Linked DNA regions of Homo sapiens: regions 1, 2, 3, 4, 5 and 7 are each linked to region 6. The links are contacts of gene promoters, found by promoter capture Hi-C in blood cells and fetal thymus (Javierre and others, 2016). All regions are on one chromosome and are shown on one strand. Each heading gives the region's core, a stretch centred on a gene start or on the middle of the fragment in contact. The rest is flanking DNA. Distances are from core to core; before and after follow the strand shown. Region 1 holds the start of SMUG1 (single-strand-selective monofunctional uracil-DNA glycosylase 1). Region 2 holds the start of NFE2 (nuclear factor, erythroid 2). Region 3 overlaps EIF4B (eukaryotic translation initiation factor 4B). Region 4 has its middle 3.6 kb from the start of SPRYD3. Region 5 holds the start of CBX5 (chromobox 5). Region 6 holds the start of ATP5MC2 (ATP synthase membrane subunit c locus 2). Region 7 has its middle 14 kb from the start of MIR3198-2.

Region 1 (3,570 bases), core at 850-3,349, 510 kb before region 6:
TTGCCTGTTACTCATTTCACTCATTATTGTTCTGCCAGAAGCAGACTTTGAATGTGGAGGGGCTGCCAAGATGACAAACTAGAACAGAAGTGCTGGGCAAGCAAGTGACAGAGGGGTCGGGGTGGACAGGAGGGTTGTCCAAGGGATGGTGGAAATCCTGGAATTTTTAAGCAATGAGATGACACCACAATGAGGTCCCTTCACCTTATTTTTGGTCAGAAACACAGAAATACATAGACACACAGAGATGGGGGAACTTGTTCTAGAAGCTCAGATTCTCTTATTCCAGTCATTCTAGGGTAAGAAGCAGAAACAGGGAGATGTTCACAGAGGGAGACAGAGACCTGCAGATACAGAGAGAAAGCTACACAAGAGACTAGAAATAGAGATAAATTTACATAAGTAGAGAGGGGCAAATAACATAGGCAGAGAGAGACACAGAGAGGGAGAGGATCTGGTAAAAATTAAAGCTCAGGAAATTATGGGCTTCATGAGGTGGATGATTAATTCCATTTCCAAAGTCTTGCAAGGGTCAGGGTAGTTTCTCACCCTTGATGTCAGCAGGTCACTGCTCACAGCTCCCTGAAGCTCCTACTGCACCCATTAAGTTTTTGTTGATAGGAGATCAGACAAGTCCTGGGAAGGGAATAGCATCCTTTTTCTCTCACTTCTTCCTGTTCTGGGGTTTATAGGTCTCCTTTTCTACCACTCACAGGGAGACCTTGCTTCTGTGATTAGAGCCTTGGCTGTGCTAAGGTGTGTGGAGATTGTGGGGTGGGAGGAATATAGAAGATAACTAACCTTAGGGGGTTCCCAGTCTAATGAAAGTTTTAGAGTCACGACACAGAACCAGACCCAGATAGAGCACAAGAACAAAACTAGGAATAGGACAGATTTGGACATAGATATTGGGATGGGGGAATGGTGGGGGAATGGACTGTTAGGTGCAGCCATGGGATGAGGATTGATCAGGGAAGCCTTCCTGGACAAAGTATTTGAGGGAGAAGATTTGGATGGAAGAGTGATAGCTAACTTTATGTGTCTACTTGAGTGGTCTAAGGGACACCCAGATAGCTGGTAAAACATTATTTCTGGATATGTCTGTGGAGTGTTTCTGGAAGAGATTTGCATTTGAATTGGTAGACTAAGAAGATCACCCTCATTAATATGGGTGGGAACCATCCAATCCCTTGGGGGCCAGTAGAACAAAAGAGTGGAGGAAGGCAAATTCTCTTTCTTCATGAGCTGGGACATCTATTTTACCTGCCTTTGGACATCATTGGAGTTCCTGGTTCTTCGTCCTTCAGGCTCTGGGACTTAGCAGTGAGCCTCCTCCCCTGCTTTGGACTTTCCTGAATTATACCACCTGTTTTCCTGGTTCTCCAGTGTATAGACAGCAGAGCGGGAGACTGTGGGACTTCTTGGCCTCCACAATCCTGTGAGCCAATTCTTGGAATAAATCTCGTCATATAGATAGATATCCTGTTAGTTCTGTTCTCTGGAAAACTCTTGACTAATACTGAGGTTATAGGGTTGGGCAGATAGCAAGGCAGAGAAAGAAGTCAAAATGGTGACACTCTGGAGATGGGCTTGGACAGTAATGGGGGATGCCCCTTGCTAAAAAGTTGTTAGGAGCTACCAGAAATGTCTTCGTGGATGTTCTGTATAAGTAATGGCAGGCTGCAAAGGAGAAGTCTCTTATACCCACGGTGGCAGGGGGCCTAGCAATGGTCTTTAGCTATTGTTAATACCTTCAGGTGGGTGAGGGATTGGGGATGGTTGAAGCTTCCTGATTTGCAATCCCTTTGGGAAAATAGTGAATGAACTTTTGGAAGGGCGATGCCCTTTAGGGATAGAACCCAGGATTTCCTAGGTACTTACAGGCTGTGGCTTTTCACTTCTCAAGACTTCCTGATTTAACGCTGATGGAAAGATTAAACTACAATTCCCAGCGATCTTTAGGGCTAATTTAGTGCGCCTTCCGGGATTGGAGCATTTCCGGCGGAAGTGGCTGCGGGTACGCCAATCTCCTTCCCTAAACAATGTAGACTACGACTCCCACTGTCCTTAGCGCCGGGGGTTGGGTTTGGGGTGGGGGAAAGGAACCGGAAACGGGATGGGGAGCTGGACCAGGTGAGGAAGTAGGGGGCTGGGAATCCGGGACTGTGGGGGCAAGTTGACGGCTCCCAGGGTCGTCGGGGCTGAGCCGAGAGGGTGGTTAGAATTTCTATATTTTGGGGTCCCTCCCTCCGTATGGGGTAAGACTCAGTGCAGGGAGAGCCCAGCCTATGAAACCGCCTGGGAGGTCTGCAGGATCAAGGCTTTCCAGTCGGCCGGAGCCAGCGGGCGCCCCCGGAGGTTTTGTATGGTGCCTTAGTAGTCGGCCCCTTTGGAACCAGATGAAATGGTCTTTTTGAGTTTATGCTTTATTATTATTATTGTTTATTTATTTATTTTTCTGAGACGGAATTTTGCTCTGAATTCCAGGCTGGAGTGCAATGGCGCGATCTCAGCTCACTGCAGCCTCCGCCTCCCGGGTTCAAGCGATTCTTCTGCCTCAGCCTCCCGAGTAGGTGGGATTACAGGCGCGCGCCACCATGCCCAGCTAATTTTTGTATTTAGTAGAGACTGGGTTTCACCATGTTGGTCAGGCTGGTCTCGAAGTCCTGACCTCGTGATCCGCCCGCCTCGGCCTCCCAAAGTGCTCGGATTACGGGTGTGAGCCACCGCGCCCGGCCTATGCATTATTATTATTATTATTATTATTATTATTATTATTATTATTATTTATTATTATTATTATTATTATTATTATTTCGTTTAAGGATATTTATTATTGTCCCTGGACTCCCGGAGTGCCTCCAAAGGACAGGGGAGTGCATATGTGATTTCGATTCCTTCCTCACTTCCCGGATTTGATGTCAGAGAAGTCTGACATCAGTCTGAAGTCGGCCCTTGGTGGTCAGCCTTATCGCTTGGTCCAACTCCGCTGTCTTTGTGCTTAATGTAGTATGACACCGTATTTTATAAAATATCTACATTTCTTAAGCCTCTGGCTCTTGGGGCGACTTTGGGTAGAACTTACAAGTTCCTCCTTTGGGTTCTCTTAGTGTTTTGTTCCGGGTATTAAAGCTCACATCACACTGTATTACAGTTAGTTGTTTATTTGCCCTCACAGCAGATTATGAGCTTACAGAAAGCCTGGCCTACATTTTACTCTTTTTGGATTTCTTCCTCATCAAGAGACTGCTGCAGTGCCTGTCATGTAAGAGACTCATAAGTATTGAAAAAAAAAATGAGTTAACAGGTGGTAGGTTGGATGGAGTATGTGATTTTCCATAGAGAAGAGAGTTAAATGAGTTGCTCAAGAGAACCTTCTTAGAGATGAAACAGGAGTAGAATTCAAATCAATTGACTTCCAGCCTGTGGCTCTTGCTATGAGATCAGGCTTTGAAGTTATGGAACAATGAAAGTAGTATCTTGCCACTCTTTTCCCCAGCCTTGCTGTTTCCAACACAGGTGTCTAAATGTCAAAGGTGGGCTCAAGACTTCTCGAGATTCTAGAGCTGG
Region 2 (3,828 bases), core at 639-3,138, 620 kb before region 6:
TTGTCTATGCAACACCAGTATCCTGAACTGATAATTCTTATTCAATAAATGTTTGTTGACTATCTATAACCTGATATCATTATATAGTCAGCCACAAGTGTGACTGTTACCATTCTTCATCCCCTCTGAGTGGCCCAAATAAATATGCAAATGAGAGAATTATATCTGAGAGCCTACATATGTGACCCAGATTCATGCCCAAGTCTGAAGAGATTCTGAACCCACATGTAACATGTAATGAAGGCATTGGATTGCCTCCTGTCTTACCTTGATCATGCATGTGCAGTCATGATCTACTGGAAAAGGGATGGAATTCAAAGCATTTAACCATAGGTTTGGCATGGGCATTGGCCAATTCCAGCAGAAGCAGGCAGCACAGGAGGCTCCTTATGGTACCAGCATTGCCTCTTTACTTCCATGGTTGTGTTGCTGGGTTGTTGGGGATCTTAGAGGAGAACTAGGCTATTGGTGGAGTCGTGGGGGACACTTAGAGGGCTCACAGCAGCTGCCTTTTATCAACTAGGACTGAACATTTTCATTATTTTAACAGCAAATACAATCCCATCAGAGCATGCTGGTTGAATGCCAGTCCTACTCCAGAGTGGCACCTATCTGCTTCCCCAGTCTTCAGATGTTTCTAATTTAACTTGAACATTGTAAGAAGAAAAAATGTAAGCTGCAGATGTCAGGATTGAAGCTAGACATATAGAGCTGAAAGCCATTACAAATTAGGAGGAAGAAAGGCTCTTTTCTCACAGTCTGTGGAGAAAGATGTTTGACCTGGGGCTTTGGTGGTGTAGCTTGCAGGCAAAAAGATGAATAAGTGGGCTGGGTGAGGTGGCTCATGCCTGTAATCCCAGCACTTTGGGAGGCCAAGAGGGGAGGATTGCTTGAGCCCAAGAATTCAATACCAGCCAAGGCAATATAGTGAGACACCACTTCTACCAAAAAAAAAAAAAAAAAAAAAAATTAGCTGGGCATGGTTGCACTGACCCATAGAACCAGCTACTTGGGAGGCTGAGGTGGGAGGATTGCTTAAGCCTGGGAGTTTGAGACTGTAGTGAAACATGTTCACACCACTGCACTCCAGCCTGGGAGACAGAGTGAGCCCCTCTCTGGAAAAAAAAAAAAAAAAAGATGAATAAGGGTACTTACTGGCCTAACAGAGTTGGGTGCCATGTGGCTGGGGTGCTTTGCCTGGGAGAAAGGAGGACAAAGGACACCTGGGGTCCCCTTTACGGGAGGTGAATAATCTCCCTGCTGGGTGGCCCCCCACCTAACTCCCTTCACACACTGACAAAAACCTGGCCAAGAAAGAATCCTTTGTCCTGGGACTTCTGAGGCTGAGGGGGGAGGGGAGAAGGCTACAGGTGAAAGGACACATCAAAGCAGTCAGTTGCCCCTCCTCCTCCAAATAGTTCCCCTGCCCTTGTTCCCAGAGCCCAGGTTTTCTGTAAATGAAGGCTATACCCTAAACGTCCAACTGCCTAGACAGCTGGGAAGCTAGACACCTGGTCCTTACCTTCAGCTGCCTTCCACCTTGATATGACTCAGTTTCCCTGTCCCTAGGAGAGCCGTGGGGACACAAGGCGACGACAACCTGTATAAAGTTTAAAGGTCACATTCGAGTGGACCATCAGGTTGGAATTCGTCAAATGCATGGGAGAAACGCAGACCTGGCTGGACTCCTGGGCTGAAAAGGAGGGCTGGGAGAGGCTTGGAGCCATGTGTGCCCCCGCTGGCCAGGAGCAAGGTGGGGGCGGGGTGTGGGCAGAAACCACATCGGGCTCAAGTTTCCTCTCTTGGCCGAAAGGGGCAGGAGGAGAGGAGAGCCACGGGGAAAGGGGAGGGTTGGAGGAAGGACTGAGAACTCAGGCCGAGGGCTTCAGACGCTGGTGCGCCTGCTTGGGGCTCCTGTGCTCAGCTCAGCCTGAGCTTCCACACTCAGCGCTCAGCAATGGCCCGGGGGCGGGGCGCGGTCCTCGCAGATTCTCAAAGGTAGCCGGGATCCTCGTCCAGCAGTGTCAGCTCAGGCTCAGCCTCCCCAGAGACAACACCGGGAGCCTCATCTCTCTCCTCACCCTGCTGTGACTCCACCACAGGTGCCTGAAAGGCAGGGTGTGTGTGGGGGGGGCGGATTCCAGTGAGATCCGAGGGGCAGGCTGGGGGGTGAAGGAGGTGAGGGGGGAAAATAACCAACTTTCGGTATCCTAGGAGACCTCAGACTTTCTAGATTGCCCCTGGTTTAGGAATCTGACATATTTGGGAACTCCTCTAGGAGAAGACCTAAGTGGTTTCTTGGGTGCTCTGGGATCCTTGGGGTGGAGGCTGTGAATGGGGATCAGAGAGGGGTCTCCAGAGGCAAGGCACCGCTGAGGGGCTGGGGAGTAGCCAGGAGGAATCCTTCAACTGGTGGGCTACCCTGAGGGAACCAATAGACTACCCTTTCCCCAACTCCATTCCATTACTCTGCCCTGTCTAGGCAGCTGAGAAGGTTTAGGGAAAGCTGAGGAATTGGAAACACTGGATATCTGAACCTCTGAGAAGTGTTGCAAGGTGCGGGGGTTGGATGGGAGATTGCCTCTGGGTTGTTGGCTCCTTTGCCCTTTCTCTTCTCTGTGCCCAGGGGCAGTAGAGATCAGCTGGACCTGGAGGGAGAAGGAAGACATCCCAACCCCAGCATAGTTGCTTCTAACTGGAACTCTTGGCTGCTTGGGAAATAGGGGCTTGGGAAGCAGTGGAAGAGAAGAGAGGAGGTATCAGAACTGCTGGGGCTGGGATCCCCTAGACATCGGTACCAAAGGACTGGAGTTTGGGGTCCAGGGATGAAGTGACACAATAGCAGAAACTCGTCCCCCTCTTCTTTGTTCTCACACATTTGTTTGAGTCATGCATGTCCCTAGGGCACTGAGCTCACTATGCTTAAATCTCTCTCCCTCCTTTTTTTCCCCTTCATTCTGTCTCATCTCTGTGTGTCTCTCTCTCTTCGGGAGTTCTCCCTAATCTTTCTAAATAGGTTGCTTACCGGTTAACCAATACCCCAAGTTTTACTAATCCCTCCTCATCCTTTCACTGCACCTATTGACACCTGGAGAGGTGAGGTGGTCAAATAAGCCTCAGAAAAGGGATCCTGAGGCAAGCCCCCTCTCATCGTTCCCCCTCGTTAAGGAAGTTAAGAGCCCTGGGGCAGCAGCTAAGGCCAAATGTATTCCTCTCTCCATCATCCCTCTCCGAATAGTCCTCACTCTGTATTCCTAATCATGAAGCTCCGTATCATTCTGTGAGTACTTAGGGATTATGATAAAAATCTTTCTGGGTAGGACCACCAGGCTAAGAGTAAGGAGGATGGACTTTAGTCCCTGGTGACAACCCCATTTCTACCTAATCCATAATGTTGGGGAGTAAGAGAAGGAACAGACAACCCAGTGGGAGTAAGATGGTGGTGTGACCCCAAAATGCAAAAGCTAAACTGTAAAGTGGGAGCTTCTTATTGTAAAAGAAAGGGAACACAGGGAAGCCCACTTCACTTTCCCAGTATCTCCCCAGTTTCTATACCCTCTATGGTGTTCTATTTGATCCAATTCTATCTATCTCCCTGATCTATCCCACTGCCTGCCAGCTCTGCTGTCCTCTGAAAGGTAGGCTCTGGAAACCCAGAGGGACCCTATGCCTGGTGTATAGAACACCATCCATCCTTGAGCGTCTAGGGAAAAGCATCCTGCTCCACCTGCCACCTGGTACAAACTTGCTACTGCACCCAAGAGCTGGTTGGAATGGATCCAGAGGTTCTCCTCAACTCTCTCTCCCCCAAACTCCTGCCTCCCCTTG
Region 3 (3,666 bases), core at 207-2,706, 660 kb after region 6:
TAGAATTAACTTTTTAACTATCCAAGGTAATTTGTCAAGTGTAGTAAATTAAAAATAATTCTCACATAACTAGCTGAATAAAAGGCATATTTGGTGCCACAACAATTATTTATCAAAATTTATAGAAGCCAGGTGCAGTGGCATGTACCTACAGTCTCAGCTATTTGGGAGGCTGAGGCTGGAGGATCACTTAAGCCCAGGAGTTCAAATCCAGCCTGGGCAATATAGCGAGACACTGTCTCTTAAAAACAAAAACACCCAACACATTTATAGAGCCTCTACTACTACTATGTACCAGCAAAATTGCATAAAGCATGCTTTGTCTACAATCTTAGGTTCTTTCACTCAGTATTACCTTCAGATAAATCAGTTCTTCCAGAGATACCCTCTGACTTCCCTTTCCCACATCATTATTTATATACTTTGAACCCAATTAATTCTATTGCTGATTTTTCCTCATTTCATAGTAGAATCTACAGTTGAAGGATAACAATGATTTTTAGTTAAAAATACCCAAAACTATATTAAACACCACTATAATGAAATCTCTAGTAACAAAGTAACTCTTAACTATGGACCACAACAATATATTAATAGTTAATCTAGTAAACATCAAATAGTTAACAATTGCATGGTATTCTTTTTCTTATCCAGACTGAGTAAAGTTAGAGACCAGTAATGTTAATAAAAATCTAAAAATAATCCAGTAAGAGTAACTCTGGAACAAGATTAGACCTTCATATGCATTTAACTAAGTACATTAATTTTTATCTCTATTTCACACTGACTACAGGTTATCATGATGGTAATCAATTATGAGGCAGCAAAACTATTTCTAAGAGGTGTTGATTTCAATCATGTCATATGGCAAAATAGGACTACAGAAATATGGCACAAATGGCACTAGAAATTGCCTTATCAATAAACAATAAGGTGTTTTTGGAGTTAAAGGAGGAAAAAAGTCTTTTTTCTTCTGAGATATAAGCCCCTCAAGTCCTGGGACAGGAAAACCTTTGTGGGCAGTGTTGACAAGCAGAAGGACTAGATATTTATTGTCACTCTCCTGTAAAATATTCCTTTGTAGGAAATGTTTCCAAATCCTCTTAAATGAACAAATATACCATTACAACACTTCCCTGAAAATGAGATATGCCTTTAATACTAAACAAACTTGATTTTTCTATTTGCCTTTATCAGGCCAGATTACTTTGAAAAAGCAATGCCATAAGAGTTGAGGCAACACTGTGGGTAAATCAGTGTAAGACTTAATTAGAGACCTGGTGTGTGGTGGGTTTCTTCCACAACTTTCCACCTAAGTACCTATCTAAATTATTGGGGCCTACTGAATTTGCTGAAGTGTGACTTGCTAGATGTTCGATGTTAAGTGATACACTGTTAAATAATGCAGGCCTTTATTTGTAGATATGGGAATCTTTGAAGTGAGCCTCTCAACCTAAAAAATACCAGTTTGATCAATAAACATGAGATTTGTGAACTTACACCCCTCATATCCCCACTCTTATTTTCTTTACCTCTTCATTGAGACTCAGGGCACTGAGCAGGGAATCCAGGTCCTCAAATTCAGCATAACCAAAACCTTTCAACCTCTCTGGATTGCTGGGTTCACGTGGTAAACGCACTGCACTGATCTGAAGGAATAAGAATCAACAACAAAGTTTCCCAGCATTCTTCTTCATTTGTCATTTTTTGAGAGGACTACAAAAGCATTACTGTATGTGCATGAATTTTTCTGAATACACAAGAACATGGTTGTCTCAGGAGGAAAACTGATGCAGAGGGATAGTAGAAACTTTACTAAATGCCCTATTATACCTTCTGAATTTTGAACTGTATGAATTTAACTCTAAAAAAAAAAAAAAAAAGATTAATTCAGGCCAGGTGCAGTGGCTCATGCCTGTAGTCCCAGCACTTTGGGAGGCCGAAGCAGGTGGATCCTCTGAGGTCAGGAGTTCAAGACCAGCCTGACCAACATAGTGCAACCCTATCTCTACTAAATACAAAAAATTAGCTGGGCATGTAATCCACTGTACTCCAGCCTGGATGACAGAATGAGACTCTGTCTCAAAAAAAAAAAAAAAAAAAAAAAAGAAAAAAAAAAAATATATATATATATAATTTTGATTTTATTTTTTTTCTTTGAGATGGTGTTTCACTCTTGTTGCCCAGGCTGGAGTGCAATGGCGCAATCTCGGCTCACCACAACCTCCGTCTTCCAGGTTCAAGCAATTCTCCTACCTCAGCCTCCCAAGTAGCTGGGATTACAGACGTGTACCACCACGCCCAGCTAATTTTTGTATTCTTAGTAGAGACAGGGTCTCACCACGTTAGCCAGGCTGGACTCGAATTCCTGACCTCAAATGATCCACCCGCCTCAGACTCCCAGAGTGCTGGGATTACAGGCGTGAGCCACCATTCCCGGCCTTAAATTATATTTCTAGTTGTTTTTTCAACAGCAACTGCCCATTCCACAATTAGTCTTTTTTAGACATTATCCTCAATATCTAGTTAATTATTACAACTTTTACACTTACATTTAATCCTCGAAAGAATTCCTTAATTGACTCTTCTGTAACATCATAGGGTAGGTTTCCTAGAAAAGCAGTGTAGGGTGGCGATTTGGGAAGACGGCTCCGGTCGATATTGGGTTCCCGAGCAGCCCGTGGAGCAGTGGGAAGGATGGAACGGTCAATTGGAGGCGCCCTATACACATCGTCATCGTTACTGTGCCAAGTGGTCGAAACTAGGATAGAGGAATGAATGTAAGAAATTAGAAGAAACTTCTCTCACTACTGTCATAGAACAAGAGGACCCATGTTAATTGCCAAATATTAAACATGCTATACAAGAAAACCAGACCAAAAAAAGTGGGGGTTCAGTAATAAGGGCACTTTACGAAGAGAAGCTTCTGAGATTAATTATGACACCTTAATCTTTATGTAAGCAAAGAAATATTATTCCATAAATACAACTCTTTATGGAATATTACTGTGTGCCAGCTACTTTATATTCATTATATCCCATCTTATCTTTTTAACAGTCCTGTGAGGTTGTCCCCCATTCTACAGAAAAGCAAACTCAGATTTCAGACAGTAATTTGCCCAAGGTCACAGACGGTAAAGCTAGGATTCAAACCTGGGTCCCTCTTACTCCAGGTATATTTAACCACTACTGACAACTCTTGTATTCCTAGTGGTGAGTTTGAAGTTGAGTATTTTTCTGCATGGTCTATCCTCCCTTAAAAACAACAACAGGCCTGGCTCGGTGGCTCACACCTATAATCCCAACACTTCGGGAGGCCAAGGTGGGTGATCACCTGAGGTCAGGTTTGAGACCAGCCTGACCATTATGGTGAAACCCTGTCTCTACTAAAAATACAAAAATTAGCCAGGTGTGGTGGCATGTGCCAGTAATCCCATCTACTTGGGAGGCTGAGACAGGACAATCTATTGAACCGGGAGGCGGCAGTTGCAGTGGGCCAAGATATTGTGCCACTGCACTACAACCTGGGCGACAGAGTGAGACTCCATCTGAAAACAAACAAACAAAAATATCACAACAAAAATCTTTTCCTACAGCACTGTCCATGAATTTGTACTTCAGATACCAACACCTATGGGAAGTACGACCTATATAAAATTTCCTGTT
Region 4 (3,421 bases), core at 8-2,507, 590 kb after region 6:
TCAGGCTGGTCTCGAACTCCCAACCTCAGGTGATCTGCCTGTCTCAGCCTCCCAAAGTGCTGGGATTACAGGTGTGAGCCACTGTGCCAGGCCGCCAGGGGCTTTTTCAATAGAAATTGGCAAGCTGATTATCTCACATGGAAATGCAAAACAGAAAGTTGGAGGACTTATATTACCTGATTTCAAGACTTATTATAAAGCTATAGTAACAAATACATACAGATAGAGGAGCCAGGCACTATGGCTCACACCTGTAATCCCAACAGTTGGTGGGGGCTAAGGCAGGTGGATCACTGAGCCCAGGAGTTTAAGATCAGGTCTGAACAACATGGTGAAACCCTGTCTCTGCAAAAAATATAAAAATTAGCCAGCTGTGGTGGTGTCCACCTGTAGTCCTAGCTACTCAGGAGGCTGAGATGAGAGGACTGCTTGAGCCCAGGAGGTGGAGGTTGCAGTGAGCTGAGATCGCAACACTACACTCCAGTCTGGGCAATAGAATGAGACCCTAAATTATATAATTATAGACTTAAATGCAAACCTAACACATAGAACTTTTTTTTGTTGTTTGTTTTTTGAGAGGGAGTCTTGCTCTGTCACCCACGCTGAAGTACAATGTCACGATCTCGGCTCACTGCAACCTCCGCCTCCCAGGTTCAAGCGATTCTCCTGTCTCAGCCTCCCTAATAGCTGGGATCACAGGTGTGTGCCATCACACCTGGCTAATTTTTTATATTTTAGTAGAGACAGGGTTTCACCATGTTGGTCAGGCTGGTCTCAAACCTGAGCTCAAGCAATCCACCCACCTCTGCCTCCCAAAGTGCTAGGATTACAGGCGTGAGCCACCATGCCCAGCCCGTTTTTTTTTTTTTTTAGAGGGAATTTCACTCTTGTTGCCCAGGCTGGAGTGCAATGGTGCAATCTCGGCTCACCGCAACCTCAGCCCCCTTGGTTCAAGCGATTCTCCTGCCTCAGCCTCCCGAGTAGCTGGGATTACAGGCATGCGCCACCACGCCTGGATAATTTTGTATTTTTAGTAGAGATGGGGTTTCTCCATATTGGTCAGGTTGGTGTCGAACTCCCGACCTTGACCTCAGGTGATCTGCCCACCTCGGCCTCCCAAAGTACTGGGATTACAGTTGTGAGCCACTGCACCCGGCAGAACTTTTTTTTTTTTTTGAGGTAGGGTCTCACTCTGTTGTCCAGGCTGGAGTGCAGTGGCAGCACAACCATGGCTCACTGCAACCTCTGCCTCCTGGGCTCAAGTGATCCTGCCATCTTAGCCTCCCAAGAAGCTAGGATTACAAGTGTGTGCCAACAGACTGGCTAATTTTTAAATTTTCTGTAGAGACCAGGTCTCACTGTATTGCCAGGGCTGGTGTTGAACCCCTGGGTTTGAGCAATTCTCCCTGCCTTGGCCTCCCAAAGCACTGGAATTACAGGTGTGAGCCACCATGCCCAGCCTGAACAACTCCGTTAAAAACATGAGAAGACAAGCTGCAGACTAGAAGAAAATATTTGTAAAGCACATATCTGATAAAGAATTTGAATCTAGAATATATAAAGACTTTCAAAATGCAATAAGAAACAATTTTTTGAAATGAGCAAGTGATTTAATCAGATACTTCACCAGAGAAGATATATGGATGACAAATAAGCATATGAAAAGATGCTCAACCTCGTTAGTCATTAGGGAAATGGAAATCAAAAGTGAAATGAGATACCACTTCACACTAAGTGGCTATAATCAAAAAGAGATAATAACAAGTGTTGTTGAGTATGTAGACAAATTGGAACCCTCATACACTGTGATACCTACCTATTAGGAAGGCTGAAAGTAAAAAGAATAACCATACCAAGTGATGGCAAGGATGTGGAACAACTAGAACACTCACACACTGCTGATAGGAATGTAAAATGATACAACTACTTCTGAAAACAGTGTGATGCTTTTTAACCAATTAAGAACCGTACATCTACCATGTGACTGAGCCATTCACTCCTAGATATTTACTTAAGAGAAAATGACACTTTGGGAGGCCAAGGTGGGCAGATCACGTGAGGTCAGGAGTTCTGGACCAGCCTGGCCAATACGGTGAAACCCCATCTCTACTAAAAATACAAAAAAAAAAAAATTAGCCAGGCGTGGTGGCACATGCCTGTAGTCCCAGCTACTTGAGAGGCTGAGGCACAAGAATCACTTGAACCTGGATGGTGGAGGTTGCAGTGAGCCAAGATCATGCCACTGCCCTCTAGCCTGGGTGACAGGGTGAGACTCCATCTCAATAAAAAGAAAAAGAAGATGAAATATGTCCATACAAAGACTTGTACATGAATATTCATCATAGCTTTATTTGTAATAGCCAAAAACTGAAAAAATCCAAATGTCCATCAACAAGTGAATAAATAAATTGTAATATATTCCAACAATAGCATACTATTCAGCAATAAAAAGGAACAATCGAGAGGCCAAGGTGGGAGGATCACTTGAGGCCAGGAGTTTGAAGTTGCAATAAGCCTTGATCACGCCATTGCTCTCCAGCCTGGGCAACAGAGCAAGACCCTGCCCCAAATAAATAAATAAATAAAAACTATTAACACAAACAACAATATGGATGAATCTCTCAAGGTAATTACGCTGAACAAAAGAAGCCAGACACATCCCTCCTCAAAGAGGATTTACTGTATGATTCCACTTACATAAAATTCTAGGAAATGCTAACTAAGATAGTGACAAAAAGGCAGATTAGTGGGCTGGGCGCGGTGGCTCATGCTTGTAATCCCAGCACTTTGGGAGGCTGAGGCAGGAGTTCAAGACCAGCCTGGCCAACATAGTGAAACTCCGTCTCTACTAAAAATACAAAAATTAGCCAGGCGTGGTGGCGGGCATCTATAATCCCAGCTACTTGGGAAACTGAGGCAGGAGAATCCCTTCAACCCGGGAGGTGGAGGTTGTAGTGAGCCAAGATTGCCCCATTGCTCTCCAGCCTGGGCGACAGAGTGAGACTCTGTCTCAAAAAAAAAAGTTTCAAAAAGCAGATTAGTGGTTCCTAGGGATGAAAGAGTGAGAGAGAGGGATTATAAAGGAGCATGAGGAAATTTTTAGGGATGATGATGATATGGTCACTATCTTGGGTGTGGTGACATTTTCATTTTCATAGGTATATAAGTAGCTTATCAAATTGTATACCTTGGCTAGGTGCAGTGGCTCATACCTGTAATCCTCGAACTTTGGGAGGCTGAGGTGGGAGGGTTGCTTGAGCTCAGGAGTTTGAGACTAGCCTGGGCAACACAGTGAGACTTCGTCTCTAATTAAAAAAAGAAAGGAATAAATTGTACACCTTAAATATATATGGTTTATTGTATGTCGGTTATATGGCAATAAAGTTGTTTATTCAAATACATGTAGACACCAAACACAAAT
Region 5 (3,646 bases), core at 871-3,370, 600 kb before region 6:
TTGCCACTGCCTCGGTCAGTCATGATTTCAATCACTTCAATTTTTCCATACTGTTCAAAATAATCTCTTAGGTGATGTTCTTCAGTGTCTTCTTTAATGCCACCAACAAATATCTTTTTCACAGTTAAGTGGGCACCTGGTCTTTGAGAATCCTAATAGGAGAAAAACCATAGGTTTAGATTAGCAAAGCCTATACTCGAATAAAAAATTTTGGTAAGTTTAGAAAACTCCCGAATCTTAAGTCCATAGCAGCACATATCCAAGTAAGTTTAAGAAGAAGAAGAAAAAAAACCCACTCACTTCTCTGGAGACAGCTCTCTTTGGTTCCACAACTCTTCCATCCACCTTGTGTGGCCTTGCATTCATAGCTGCATCCACCTCCTCCACAGTGGCATATGTGACAAACCCAAAGCCCCTGGAGCGCTTGGTGTTTGGATCTCTCATTACCTGAGAACAGTGTTAATTTATGTAACACAAAGTCTGACCGCAAAAGCTTTTGTCATTTTAACTTTGAATAGGGCAATAGGAAACTTTACACCAGCCTTTTATAAAAAGTCGTCCAGTTTCCCACTACCCTAGATTTAAGAGGTAGCTTTTAAAATCAAAGCAGGACGTTCCTTTGCCAACAAAGCTCTAACTATAATGCTATTAACTACTTTCATAAGCATTCGGAGAAGACTGCACCAAGATAAGCCAAGGAAATCGGCTGTTTTACTGCTTTGTCCCTTCCAAATCTTACCACACAGTCCGTGAGCGTTCCCCATTGCTCAAAATGGCTCCTCAGGCTCTCATCAGTTGTTTCAAAGCTCAACCCTCCAATGAAGAGCTTCCTCAGCTGTTCGGGCTCTTTAGGAGACTAGAGTGGGGGGAGGGGGAAGTGTTAAATGGGCTACAACACGAAACAATTTCCATCGAGGAAAAGAAAAACTAGACACCAACTGTGTACCTAGCACTTATTGTTCGTTCAGGTCGCAACAAGACACGTGCTTCTGCCTATCAAGGGAGGCCGTATGCTGGAGTTGGGAGTGCTAGGAAATCGCAAGCGCATGCGTCCCTAGTCGCCTTCCGACGCACGCGCAACAAAGGCTTGGGCGGTAGGGGTGCATCTCCACAATGGGACTAATCGCTCTTTAGAAAACTCGCTCACCAAGGCAAGGTTTAAAAAAAGACAAAGATCCTGTGTGCCTAAGAATTTTGCTACGAGTAACGAGTCCCGCATGATAACTCATGGTTGGCGGAGAGCGGCCTCATGGCGATCAAGAGGACAAAATGGCGACTTGAACTTTGGGAGGGGTAGGCCGTGGCAGCGACCGAAGGAACTGTAGAATGGGCTGGTGCAAGGAACGAAACCCAGCAGCATCTTACCGATTCAGGAAAGGGAGAGGAAAAAATTCAAGTGGGAAAGCGCGCCTAACTCACCTCTGACTTAGACATGACGGCAGGGTGAAGAGAGACTTTAACGATGCTTCTTCGGCGGCGTCCACGGGCAGAAAGGAGCAAGCTGACGAACGTATCTGCCAGCCTACCTTCGCCCTCTCTTTTTTACCCCGCCTCCTCGCTTTCGGCATTGGTAGACTCCGCCCTGGAACAGCTCTGATTGGATACTTGAAATCGCTTCCCCCTGCTATTGGCCTGTGGTGCCACATTGCTGTGTAACGTCATTCCTTCGGTCGTTCTACGCCGTCTCCACCCCTTGGAGTCCATTGGTTCCCGAGTAATGTTATTGTTAACCAGTCTGATTGGCCAACCGACCAATCATTCACATTTGAATCTACCTTGGGTGTTTAACATCTTTTTAATCTTCCACGCGCAAATATTACAGTCAAGTCGCTTGGCAAAGCATGATTAACACTATGTATTAGACAAGCAGCCAGGAGGTAACAATTTTTTTGCAATGAACTCTTGTTGACCGCACGTGTAGTAAAATGGCGAGTTTTGCGCAGGCGCATTAAGAAGTTCCACCTGCCTCTGAGAACACGTGAAATGGCGGGCAGGAGTAGGCAGTGAACCTACGGCGCCTGCGTGTTGGCGGGAGTTTGTCCTAGCTTTGCGCATGCGTAGTGGGCGGAGAAAAAAGGTCCGGTCCCAGGATTGGTTGCGCAGGCGCAGGGAAGGATCCGTTTTGGCGGGCGGTTGGCGTTGCGCAGAAGGCGGCGGCGGTGGTGGCTTGTGGTGCGGCCTCACCATACAGGAACAGGGCAGACGTTAGCGTGAGTGATCACTCTCAATCCCGGGTAAGTGGCAGACAGTCTTATCTACCCATAGTAGGTCTTGAACTGACTCCATTTGGGCCCGTTATTGTGTGAAATGAATGGACGGCGGGGTGGGGGGATAGTGAAGGGGCAGCGGTGGGTCGGGCCAACCAATAGAAGAACAGGGGGCGGGATGTTTTAATCCCCGTAGGTTCTTTGGAGCTGTGCAGCCGAAGACTTTGACTGGCTTGTGTATAGGCCAATTGGGTCTGCCTTGAGCTGCCGACTGATCGGCCCTTGGGCCATCGGAATGTGGGAGACGGGTTTTCCCCTTCTGAGCAGCGTCTCACTGAGCCAGTGAGCAGGAAGCGCGCGGTAGGTTGGGCTTCTCCAGGAGGCAGCGGTTTGACTCCAATGGGGAATGCGGGATCGGGCGGTTAAACGGATGGAACGAATCTGGAACCAGTAGACGGACAGCCTAAGGAAAGCGCTGGGACCAGTCGTCCAATCGGCTCTCCAAAAGAGGGAGGTCTTCGATTTGGGGTTGTGAGGAAGGGGAGTCGGTGCCTGTAATGGCGTGTGAGGGTGGATGTTTTATCCACGATGACTTCTCTAACGAAGCCTTTAGGCCTCAGTCCCATACACCTCCTTGAAAGCGTAAGTTTGCTCCTGTATTCCTCGACTTGAGCATTTTTCCCCCGCCCCCTCACCACTTGAGGTTTGGGGAACAGGAGTTGTTTTTTTTTGTTTGTTTGTTTTTAAATAATACTTTCAGAAGTCGCTTCTTTAGGAAGACTGTTAAAATGTTAGAACGAATGGGAGAAATCTCTATGTACTGTCATGGAAAGGCGTTCAAGAAATATCTCCTTCCTGATAGTGCATATTTCTACTGACAAATATGTTTGTAGGTCCACAGAAAAGTTTTGGAAAGCTACACACCAAAGTGTCAATCCTAGGGACACAGTAGGATCGAGGCAGATTAGATCTTTAATGTTTAAAACTTTGCAAGGTTAATAATTTGTGATTAAAATTAAATAAAAAATGAAGTCGATTGTTTTGTGTTTCTAGTCATAATCACATACTTACAACCCCTTTTCTGTTTTATGTAATCCATGTGCCCAGTGCTTTTATTTTAGTCTCTTTCTCCCGGGAACTTTCATATATTTCTTTTCTTTACACCATTGAAGATATCCTAAAGTCCCTCTTTTTGCTGTTCCTTTGAGGATATCTGACTTTGGAATAAAAAAGAAACAAAGAGGGTAATATTTAGGGTTCTGGGGACAGAAGATTCATCCATCACCTGGATTATTCCTTGCCTTTTAATTAGATTTCCTTCGAAGTGTGTTTTACATGCAGTCTATCTCCTTTTGGTAATGCCCACTCTGCTTATTCCAGGATCTTTTGGAGAAATAAATAAATTTTGATAACATTGGCTGTATCAGAGTCTTACTGCT
Region 6 (3,750 bases), core at 788-3,287:
TCTATGAGGGCAAGGGAGTGTTAAACATCGCAGGCTGTAACAACTTTTGGAAAGAGCCAGCTTTAGCTTCCTCCCAGGCCCCTTCTCTGATCCTCCTCTGGGATTGTTAGCCATATCTGAGTGTCTAAATTGTCGCAACAGCTGCAACAGCCGTTTGGGGGTGGTGGCTCCTAAGAACTGTGGACTTTCTCTGCCACTGAGGATGTGAAGCTGACAGCTTAAAAGAATTCCGTTTTGGTGGGAATGGAGATGTCTGGAGACCTCAGGGGATAAACTTGTGTCTTTGCTAGCCTGTCTTTCTCCTAACAGCATCTCCACAGTGCCTGGCACCACTTGGTACTTGATAAATACCTGTTGATTGATTCCCAAAGATCCCAGTTCCATTTCCCACGTACCTGCCCGCTCGGGGCGCAATCAACAACTAAAACTGGAGATTTGGGGATTTCAGAGGAACCTGTGAGAATCCTGATGGAGCTGGAAATGCGAATTTAGGAAAGACAGGCAGTCTACCACCCTCCTCTTCTCGCCCGCTTCTCCTATTTCTCCCCACTCCTTCCCCTCCCTTTCAGGAGCTCAGGGCCATAAAAATGCAGATGGAGGATCGGTGTGAAATAACGGGCCCATATAAATCCCTCTGCCGCCCGCCTGCAAGATGGATTGGCCGCATTGAAATTCCTCCGCGAGGATAATTAAACTCGGGGCCTCATCCGGGCAAAATTACATTCCTGTAATGGCGTCGCTCGGGGTCCCGGGAAATTGCTCCGTGGGCTTTCAGCGGCGGTTTTTATCGCCGGCCGGGGTGTGCCTGTCTGCGGCTCGCCTCTCCTCCGGGACCGTAAAGCTGCTGCCGTGATTTATCCTCCCCTTCTCCCAAATCCGATTAAATGGAGGAGCTCGGGGCCGGGGCGCCGCGGGGCCCGGGAGCCGGGAGGGGGCGGCGGGAAGGACGGGGCCAAGGAGGGGAGGACAAACGGCCCCTCAGAGAGTGGCGGATTTGCCTTTATTTACAGCCGCGGCTTTCTTTTTATTTTTTATTTTTTATGGGGTTTGGTGAGCTTTTCCCGTCTTTCTCGTGCTGCGTTCAAGCACGATGCAGGGACGGCAGGGGTTTGGAACTGGATAGGCCTTGTCGCCCTGTTCCAAAGGGCAGGGCAGGTCCTGTCTGGGAGACAAGGAGGCCTAGGAAAGATGAGGGCCAGGAAGCCTCCCCCACCTCCTTCCATCAGGGGAAGGGCGAGCGAAAGGGGAGAGAAAACCCACGTTCAGGAGAGCATGGGGGCGGGAGGGGAGGGCGCTGCTTATCCCAACTCGCGTAGTTGAAACCTGAGCAGAGGCTCGGGCAAGCCTGGAGTGACCTCGCAACCTTACAGCGGGTCGCAGGTGCCCGTTATTCCTAGACTGTCCCAGGAGCCAGGAAAGAGGGATTCGGATCATATTTAACCCTATCTTCTGGCTCGCTGATGCTGCTTCTCTCATGGTTTATCACCGGAATGGAAAGGAGGAAACGGGGAGTGGGGGAAAGGGCGAAGCCACCAGAAGCAGCTGCGGCATTTTGCTGACTATTCGCCCATGGAGCCGGTTTGCCATCCAGTGATGCCAGAGTCCCGGCGCGACAGAAAGCAGGACTCCCAAGATCTTCCTCCTGCTGCATTTTAGGCACTGAACCCCAATCCCGACCGTATGTTAACACTGAATTCTGAGTAGGAGTTTTGTTTTGGCAGTGTGACGACTGCGCATGCTCGGAAAGGGGACGCAAGTCCGAGATCCCAAACGCGGTACAGACCAAACCGCAGTCCACGTTACGGATCGGCTTACTCCGCGGAGTTGGCCTCATTTCTGCAGTCGGCGCTCCCTGTAGTTTCTCCTCTCGAACGCCAGGTGGAGCAACCGGCCGGATACCGCCACAGCCCTGGCAGGCGGCGCTGTGATGCCTGAGCTGATCCTGTATGTTGCAATCACTCTATCCGTGGCTGAGCGACTCGTTGGCCCGGGTCACGCATGCGCTGAGCCTTCCTTTCGCTCTTCCCGCTGCTCCGCCCCTCTCTGTCTTCTCTGCAGTGGGAGCAGGTAAGGCCTTGGGACCTAGAGCCCTCTGTGCGCTGCGCACGCGCGCGGGACACCTCACCTTGCGCGGATGCTTTGAGGCGCTTACCTTGCGTGCTCCCACCCTGGTCCTCTCGCCCTTTCTTGCTTCCGCTATCCCTTAGCCTTAGAGTTGGCTCTTCCGCGTGCCGGTGACCTCCAACCGCGCGGGCCTGGCGCCATCTTGGATGTCTCGCAGGGGGAGGATACCTTGGAGCTGGCCAAAGTTAGATCCTGGAGTGCTGCTTTTCACCTGTTCCACCCAGTCCCTGCAAACACTCTTTTCTCGCCCTCTGGCCCTTTCAGATTGTGACAACCCCCAGGCTCTCCCCTCCTATCTCTGCTTTCTCTTCTCATCCTGACTTGTGCCTTCTTTATTCTGAAATCTCCAGACTTTAGGCCCCAGAACCTCAGGTGCTCCGAGCAATGGAGATAGTGGATCGTCTAAAGTCACCAATCCCTCTAGTCAGCACCCCTCAATTTAAAAAGTAAACCTTGAACATGGTAGAAGTGGGAAAAAAAGCCAAAACATCGCCTCCCGTTAGGTTGTGGCTTGGGATAGCTAAGGCAGAAGAGAGAGGCTGGTTGCTTTGGAATCACTAGTTATTTACCAGTACCTTTCTCGCATCCCGGCACGCTGGTGAAGTTGTAAAAGTCACAAATGGTGGGCTAGAGATGAGGGTTTCTGTTGAGGCAGCAGGCCCAGAAAGGTGGGGTAAGGCCAAGCTAGTGGGGCCAGCATGAGACCCTGCCTGCCAGCTTTCCTGTGAAGGATTAATTAACCTCCCCAGATTCTGCTGTTACAAGGAAAAGAAGGTTTAAGGAAAGGAATAGTTAAGTTACTACCCCTGTGACTCATCTACACTGAGGAAAAAGCCCGTGATGATTTTGGAGTCCTGATTCTGGATAGTGCCTTTGCCCAAGTTGTAGGCTAACAATTGCAGAGTTGCCATGGTTAGATAGCCAATGGTGGGATCACTTAATTGCCACCCCTTGTTGTGGGTTTATTATATGCCAGCACCACATTAAACTCTTTATGTATGTTAATTTGTAAATGAACATACTTAATCCCCCTAAGAGCTGCATTTTACAAAGAAGATAATAAGGTATAATTCCCTTAGAAAAGAACCACCCCTTCTTTTTCTAAAAGCCTTAAAGAACTATTGGATTTTGACCCAAGAAAACCTGAATAGTACGGCAGCAAAATTGGGTTAGAGTTACATATAGGCAAAAATCAGAGTTCTAGATAGGACAAGAGTTGAAGACATCCATTAACTTAAAAGTAATTAAGGCTGGGTGTGGTGGCTCACACCTGTAATCCCAACACTGGGAGGCCAAGGTGGGAAGATCTTTTGATGCCAGGAGTTCCACAATAGCCTGGGCAAAAAATAAATTAAGAGCAATTAAGATGTTGGATTCAGAAGTGTTTTAACCTGGGACAATCTGAGTTCAGTTCATTTAATGAAGTGGTATTTAATAGCCCTAAGCATTCACTGAGTATTTCAGCCTGTGACATATTAGAAAGCATGTAACTTAAAAGATCCAAGTTCAAGTCTATCCTCTACCACTACCACAGTTTCAAGACTGGGTTTAGGGTCACGCTCTTGCGTTAAGTATACCTAATAATCATCTGGGAAACTTGTTTGAAATACAGGGCACTTGAGCCTT
Region 7 (3,836 bases), core at 824-3,323, 540 kb before region 6:
CCAGGCTGGAGTGCAGTGGCACGATCTTGGCTCACTGCAAGCTCCGCCTCCCGGGTTCACGCCATTCTCCTGCCTCAGCCTCCCGAGTAGCTGGGACTACAGGCGCCCACCACCATGCCCGGCTAATTTTTTTTTTTTTTTTTTTTTTGTATTTTTAGTAGAGACGGGGTTTCACCATGTTAGCCAGGATGGTCTCGATCTCCTGACCACATGATCCGCCGCCTCGGCCTCTCAAAGTGCTGGGATTACAGGCGTGAGCCACCGCACCCGGCCGCTGTCTCATACTTTCTTGCAGAATGCATACTGGTAAAATTCCTTAAGCCTCTTGGCCTGGATTGTTAGTGGAGGTGCTCTCCTTCTCGGGGGCAAGGGAGTGAGATGGAACCTCATGTCACCTGTCTGGACTCTTAAGACATGTAGTAAGCATTTTATGTACTATTCTCGCTCCATCATTACAAAGTCCCTATTAAGTAGTCACTATTATTCCCATTTTAAGGTGAGGAAACAGCCTTCGAAGGAGGCAGTTACTTCTCCAAGATCATGCGGTGCCAGAGTTTGAACCTCAGCTTCTTGGCTCGGAGTCCAGTGCTTTTTCACGGCATCAGCTCTCCACTCATAATCCCCCTGGTTTCTCACCCCTCACAATCTTGGGCCAAGATGCGTAAGGACCCAAAAAGTACCAAGAGGAGGGGCTCTTCCATGGGATGTCATGTAAAGGCTGCTTGGGACCACCAGAGCCCTGGGTATCTATGTGTGCCTGAAATAGTCAAGGCCTCACTCATTTATTCAGTATTTGAGTATCTCCTGGTCTTCAGACTTTGTGCCCAGAAGTGGGATACAGCAAAGAACAGACATATTCTCTGTCTTAAGTGAGAGCTCACAATTTGGTAAGTGCAACTGACCAAATGTTTTTGCAGTAAGTGCTAATAGATGTCATTATCAATTGCCAGGGGTGAGAGGAATCTCAGAGGTCTTTCCAAAGGAAAGAACGTCTGTGCAATGATTTTCAAAGAATGTGTCTGTCAAACAGACAAGAGGGCAGAAGAGCAGTCCAGGTGGAAGCAAGGTGCAGGTAAGTCCAGGCAGAGTGAGAGAGCTCATGAGGAGCTTAGGGACCCTCAGAGCAGTTTTGTGTAACCGAAGCGCTGGCTGTTGTGTGCCTGAGTCTGGCCATGATGCAGAAGATAAGGCTAGAGAAGGGGGATGCTGACAGAACGTCAGGGGCTTTCTTTGGCAAGGGTGAACAATATAAGCTTTATTCTGCAAGCCTGGGAGTCCAGAGTTTTTAGCTGTTGACCTCCATTAGACCAATTTTTTAGCAAGGTAACCCCAGAGGCAGGACTACCACCTAAGAGGCTATGCACCAGTCCTAGCAGGAAAATCCCACCAGAAGCCCCTGGTCCAAGGCGTCAGGTAAAGATGAGCGCATTCAGGAGACATTGACCAAGTCGAGTCCAAGAGAAATGGAGGAACCAGAATCTGAGATTGCAGGCTTGGCCTGCGCCAGTGCGAGACAGACATGCCCAGAAGGTGGCTCGAGCCAGGGGAGCCGGGTCCGGGCAGGACTGATCCAGCGGTTACTCAGGGAGGCGTGAGAACGCGCCAGTACCCGGGACGTGAACAGCCGCGGCGGAGGCGCGCAGGGAGAACGCCTGCCCCGCGTGGGGCCTGCTCGCCCAGAGCCGCCAGCCACGAATTTATGGCCCAAAGCCGAATGCAGCTGTGCGCAGCTGGGTATGCAAATGTATGCAAATTCGCGCTGCCCGGCCCGGGCTAGGTTGCGAGCGGAGTCAAAGGGTGGGGGAAGGGGCGCAGCATTGTTACTGTTCTTGCGCTCCCAGAGGAGTTCAGACGCGGTGCGGGAGGGGATGCAGGGGGAAGAAATACATCTTCCCTGTCCTGACCGTCCCGCCTCAGGACCGTGACAATCTATCGGGACGAGCGTGGGTTCCCTCCATGTCCTCAATGACTTGTGCCCTCACGCCCTCAGCCCCACCCTGCGTAAGATGCGTGCAGGAGGAAGGGTCCTGACACCCAGAATACCTGAGCCCCTGTTGGTCTGAGCGTCCTTCCTTCACTGCGAGCGGGAAGGAGCCGCAGGGTGGGTAGATGATCCCACACCCGCCCGGGTCTCCCAGAATTACCCCTCCCCATAGCCAGGGAGGGGGTCGTCCGGAAGACCTGATTTCTTTCATCCCTTTATTGTGACCCGTCCTTCTGCCTCCCATCCGCTTCTTGAGAAGTCCCTACAGAAGTCTAACCATAGTCACATTTGCTATTGTTTCTGTTTTATTTTTCCGGGTGGTTTAGTGAGAAGATTATTCCCAAAGTCCCAAATGTTGGGTTCTGAGGGTGTGGGAGTGGGGCCTGGGCATCAACTCCCGCCCCCTCTCCCCCACCCAACGACCAAAGAATAAGTCCCCACGCTAGGCAAGAACTGGAAGGGAGTCTGGGCTGAGGCTGTCATCTCCCGGCTCTGGCTTGTTTTTTTTCCCGCTTTTTTTTTTTTCCCTTGCTGACTCTTCCCACAATGGCCACAAGGGGTCTTCCTTGCGCTAAGAATGGGAAATCCGGCGTCAGGTTTGAGCGCTGTGAGGGTGGGGCGCCTAGCGATGCTTCCTCTCCGCGGTTTCCGAGCGCCGAGACCTGCAGGCGTCCCACCTCCCCGCCCCTCCTCGGTGGCTTCACTCAGTCGCAGACGACTTCAGTTCTCTTACCCCACGCTCCAGACTGGAGATTGGCATTTCAAGATCTCCTGCTCCTTCCCCTAAGCCTATGGAGCAACCGGAGGGCTGTGAGCTGAGACAAGAATTCGGGCCAGACATATAGTAGGCGCTCAATAAATGCTTTTCAGATGAATGACAATGTGGCAGTGTCCTGTTCAGAAGCTTGGGCAGGGAAGAGATGACTCGGGTGAGTTGAGCAGGACACCCCTCCTCCCAAAGCAAGAGGGTGCCAAGAGGCGGCTCAACTCCCTACCAGGGAAACTGAGGCCATCTGTGGGACTTACATATTGATACAGCAGGGGAGGTTCTGAAGTGACAGGGGCAATTAGAAGGGAGGGGTTAGCCAATCAGAAAGCTGTCATGGATTGATCTGACGTCGGAAGGCGGGAAAAACGGAAGATCCAGGCCCCTAAAGGAAAGCTTTGTTAGAACGGGAAAATGGGATGTGAGCGTGGAAAAGGGGCTGGAGATTTGGATTGTTTAGCTCAGAGAAGGAAAGTTAAGGCAGCCCCTTTCTCCTGTGAGGTCAGAAGTTGTTAGGTTTAGCTGAAGCTGCAGCAGGAGGAAGGGTGGTCAGACACCAGGAAGGACTTCCCCGTTGGAGTCAGACGTGGTGGCAGAGGGTGAAGGGGTGATGACGTCGTTCCCGGGGTGGGAGGTGAGTTATCTGAAACCCTCTTATAATGGGAACCCGTCAGGGGTGGTGGGGGCGGGAGATACAGTTAAGGGTTAGATGCAGTAGGTGGAAGCTTAGGTGAAGTCGGCTGCCCTTCCCCCACGGAAGCGGCTGCAGGGCCCGAGAGGTGGGAGGTTCCTGACCAGGTGCTCTCACGCTCACTGCCCACCTGGATGGACACCTGGGTGGTCCCGCCACACACCCCCACTCAGGGCTTGCAGGAAGTCCTTCCCCAGCCGGATGGGGCGAGGTGTGTTTGGATGAACCGTAGCCTCGGGTTGCACCCGGGTGGCGCAGACCTCCTCGAAGACCCTCACGTGGGCTCCCGTGGCAACTCGCCAGTCCCATCCCCTAGCTTTGGCGCATTCAGGGCCGCTCCTGAAATGTCCTCCCTGCAACCCTAGAAAAGGCTCCTCTGGGAAGCTTGCCCTGTT

What was found. Contacts are between HindIII fragments. The CHiCAGO score rates a contact against its expected background, and 5 or more counts as called.
Region 1: a contact is called between the fragment with the promoter of SMUG1 here and the fragment with the promoter of ATP5MC2 in region 6, in 3 of 17 cell types (total B cells, M1 macrophages and naive B cells). The highest score is 7.2, in total B cells.
Region 2: the fragment with the promoter of NFE2 here is called in contact with the fragment with the promoter of ATP5MC2 in region 6 in 10 of 17 cell types (erythroblasts, neutrophils, total B cells and 7 more); the score reaches 13.6 in erythroblasts.
Region 3: a fragment that was not itself captured here is called in contact with the fragment with the promoter of ATP5MC2 in region 6 in 1 of 17 cell types (neutrophils); the score reaches 5.5 in neutrophils.
Region 4: a contact is called between a fragment that was not itself captured here and the fragment with the promoter of ATP5MC2 in region 6, in 1 of 17 cell types (neutrophils). The highest score is 5.0, in neutrophils.
Region 5: the fragment with the promoter of CBX5 here is called in contact with the fragment with the promoter of ATP5MC2 in region 6 in 4 of 17 cell types (erythroblasts, M2 macrophages, monocytes and 1 more); the score reaches 6.2 in erythroblasts.
Region 7: a contact is called between a fragment that was not itself captured here and the fragment with the promoter of ATP5MC2 in region 6, in 1 of 17 cell types (naive B cells). The highest score is 5.4, in naive B cells.

The regions. Positions count from the first base shown.
Region 1 is chr12:54,187,514-54,191,083 of GRCh38, reverse strand. It overlaps SMUG1 (single-strand-selective monofunctional uracil-DNA glycosylase 1), which reads left to right and starts at 2,099. Exons shown (of 4, transcript NM_001243787.2): 1 at 2,099-2,133; 2 at 3,182-3,265. It overlaps LOC105369777 (a long non-coding RNA gene), which reads right to left and starts at 1,987. Exons shown (of 3, transcript XR_944984.2): 1 at 1,882-1,987; 2 at 550-636. The HindIII fragment of the contact is 2,636 bases long and covers 1,788-3,570 here.
Region 2 is chr12:54,299,075-54,302,902 of GRCh38, reverse strand. It overlaps NFE2 (nuclear factor, erythroid 2), which reads left to right and starts at 1,888. Exons shown (of 3, transcript NM_001136023.3): 1 at 1,888-2,102. RefSeq lists an enhancer at 1,001-1,741 and a cis regulatory region at 1,142-2,116. The HindIII fragment of the contact is 10,882 bases long and covers 1-3,828 here.
Region 3 is chr12:53,017,893-53,021,558 of GRCh38, reverse strand. It overlaps EIF4B (eukaryotic translation initiation factor 4B), which reads right to left. Exons shown (of 15, transcript NM_001417.7): 3 at 2,553-2,761; 4 at 1,533-1,649. Among named protein-coding and RNA genes, the nearest start is that of EIF4B, 13 kb to the right of the region's middle. The HindIII fragment of the contact is 2,938 bases long and covers 1-2,925 here.
Region 4 is chr12:53,081,231-53,084,651 of GRCh38, reverse strand. No RefSeq gene overlaps it. Among named protein-coding and RNA genes, the nearest start is that of SPRYD3, 3.6 kb to the right of the region's middle. The HindIII fragment of the contact is 7,282 bases long and covers 1-3,421 here.
Region 5 is chr12:54,278,596-54,282,241 of GRCh38, reverse strand. CBX5 (chromobox 5) reads left to right here and starts at 2,120. Exons shown (of 5, transcript NM_012117.3): 1 at 2,120-2,234. It overlaps HNRNPA1 (heterogeneous nuclear ribonucleoprotein A1), which reads right to left and starts at 1,516. Exons shown (of 11, transcript NM_031157.4): 1 at 1,420-1,516; 2 at 740-856; 3 at 301-447; 4 at 1-152. The coding sequence starts at 1,434. SCAT2 (S-phase cancer associated transcript 2) reads right to left here. Exons shown (of 2, transcript NR_157844.1): 2 at 3,179-3,590. RefSeq lists enhancers at 237-995, 1,738-1,797, 1,808-1,897, 2,188-2,237, 1,756-2,515 and 1 more and a cis regulatory region at 421-2,721. The HindIII fragment of the contact is 6,592 bases long and covers 496-3,646 here.
Region 6 is chr12:53,674,370-53,678,119 of GRCh38, reverse strand. ATP5MC2 (ATP synthase membrane subunit c locus 2) reads left to right here and starts at 2,037. Exons shown (of 5, transcript NM_005176.7): 1 at 2,037-2,067. RefSeq lists enhancers at 1,546-1,775, 1,886-2,335. The HindIII fragment of the contact is 5,549 bases long and covers 1-3,750 here.
Region 7 is chr12:54,215,920-54,219,755 of GRCh38, reverse strand. No RefSeq gene overlaps it. Among named protein-coding and RNA genes, the nearest start is that of MIR3198-2, 14 kb to the left of the region's middle. RefSeq lists silencers at 1,720-1,769, 3,571-3,756. The HindIII fragment of the contact is 1,635 bases long and covers 1,256-2,890 here.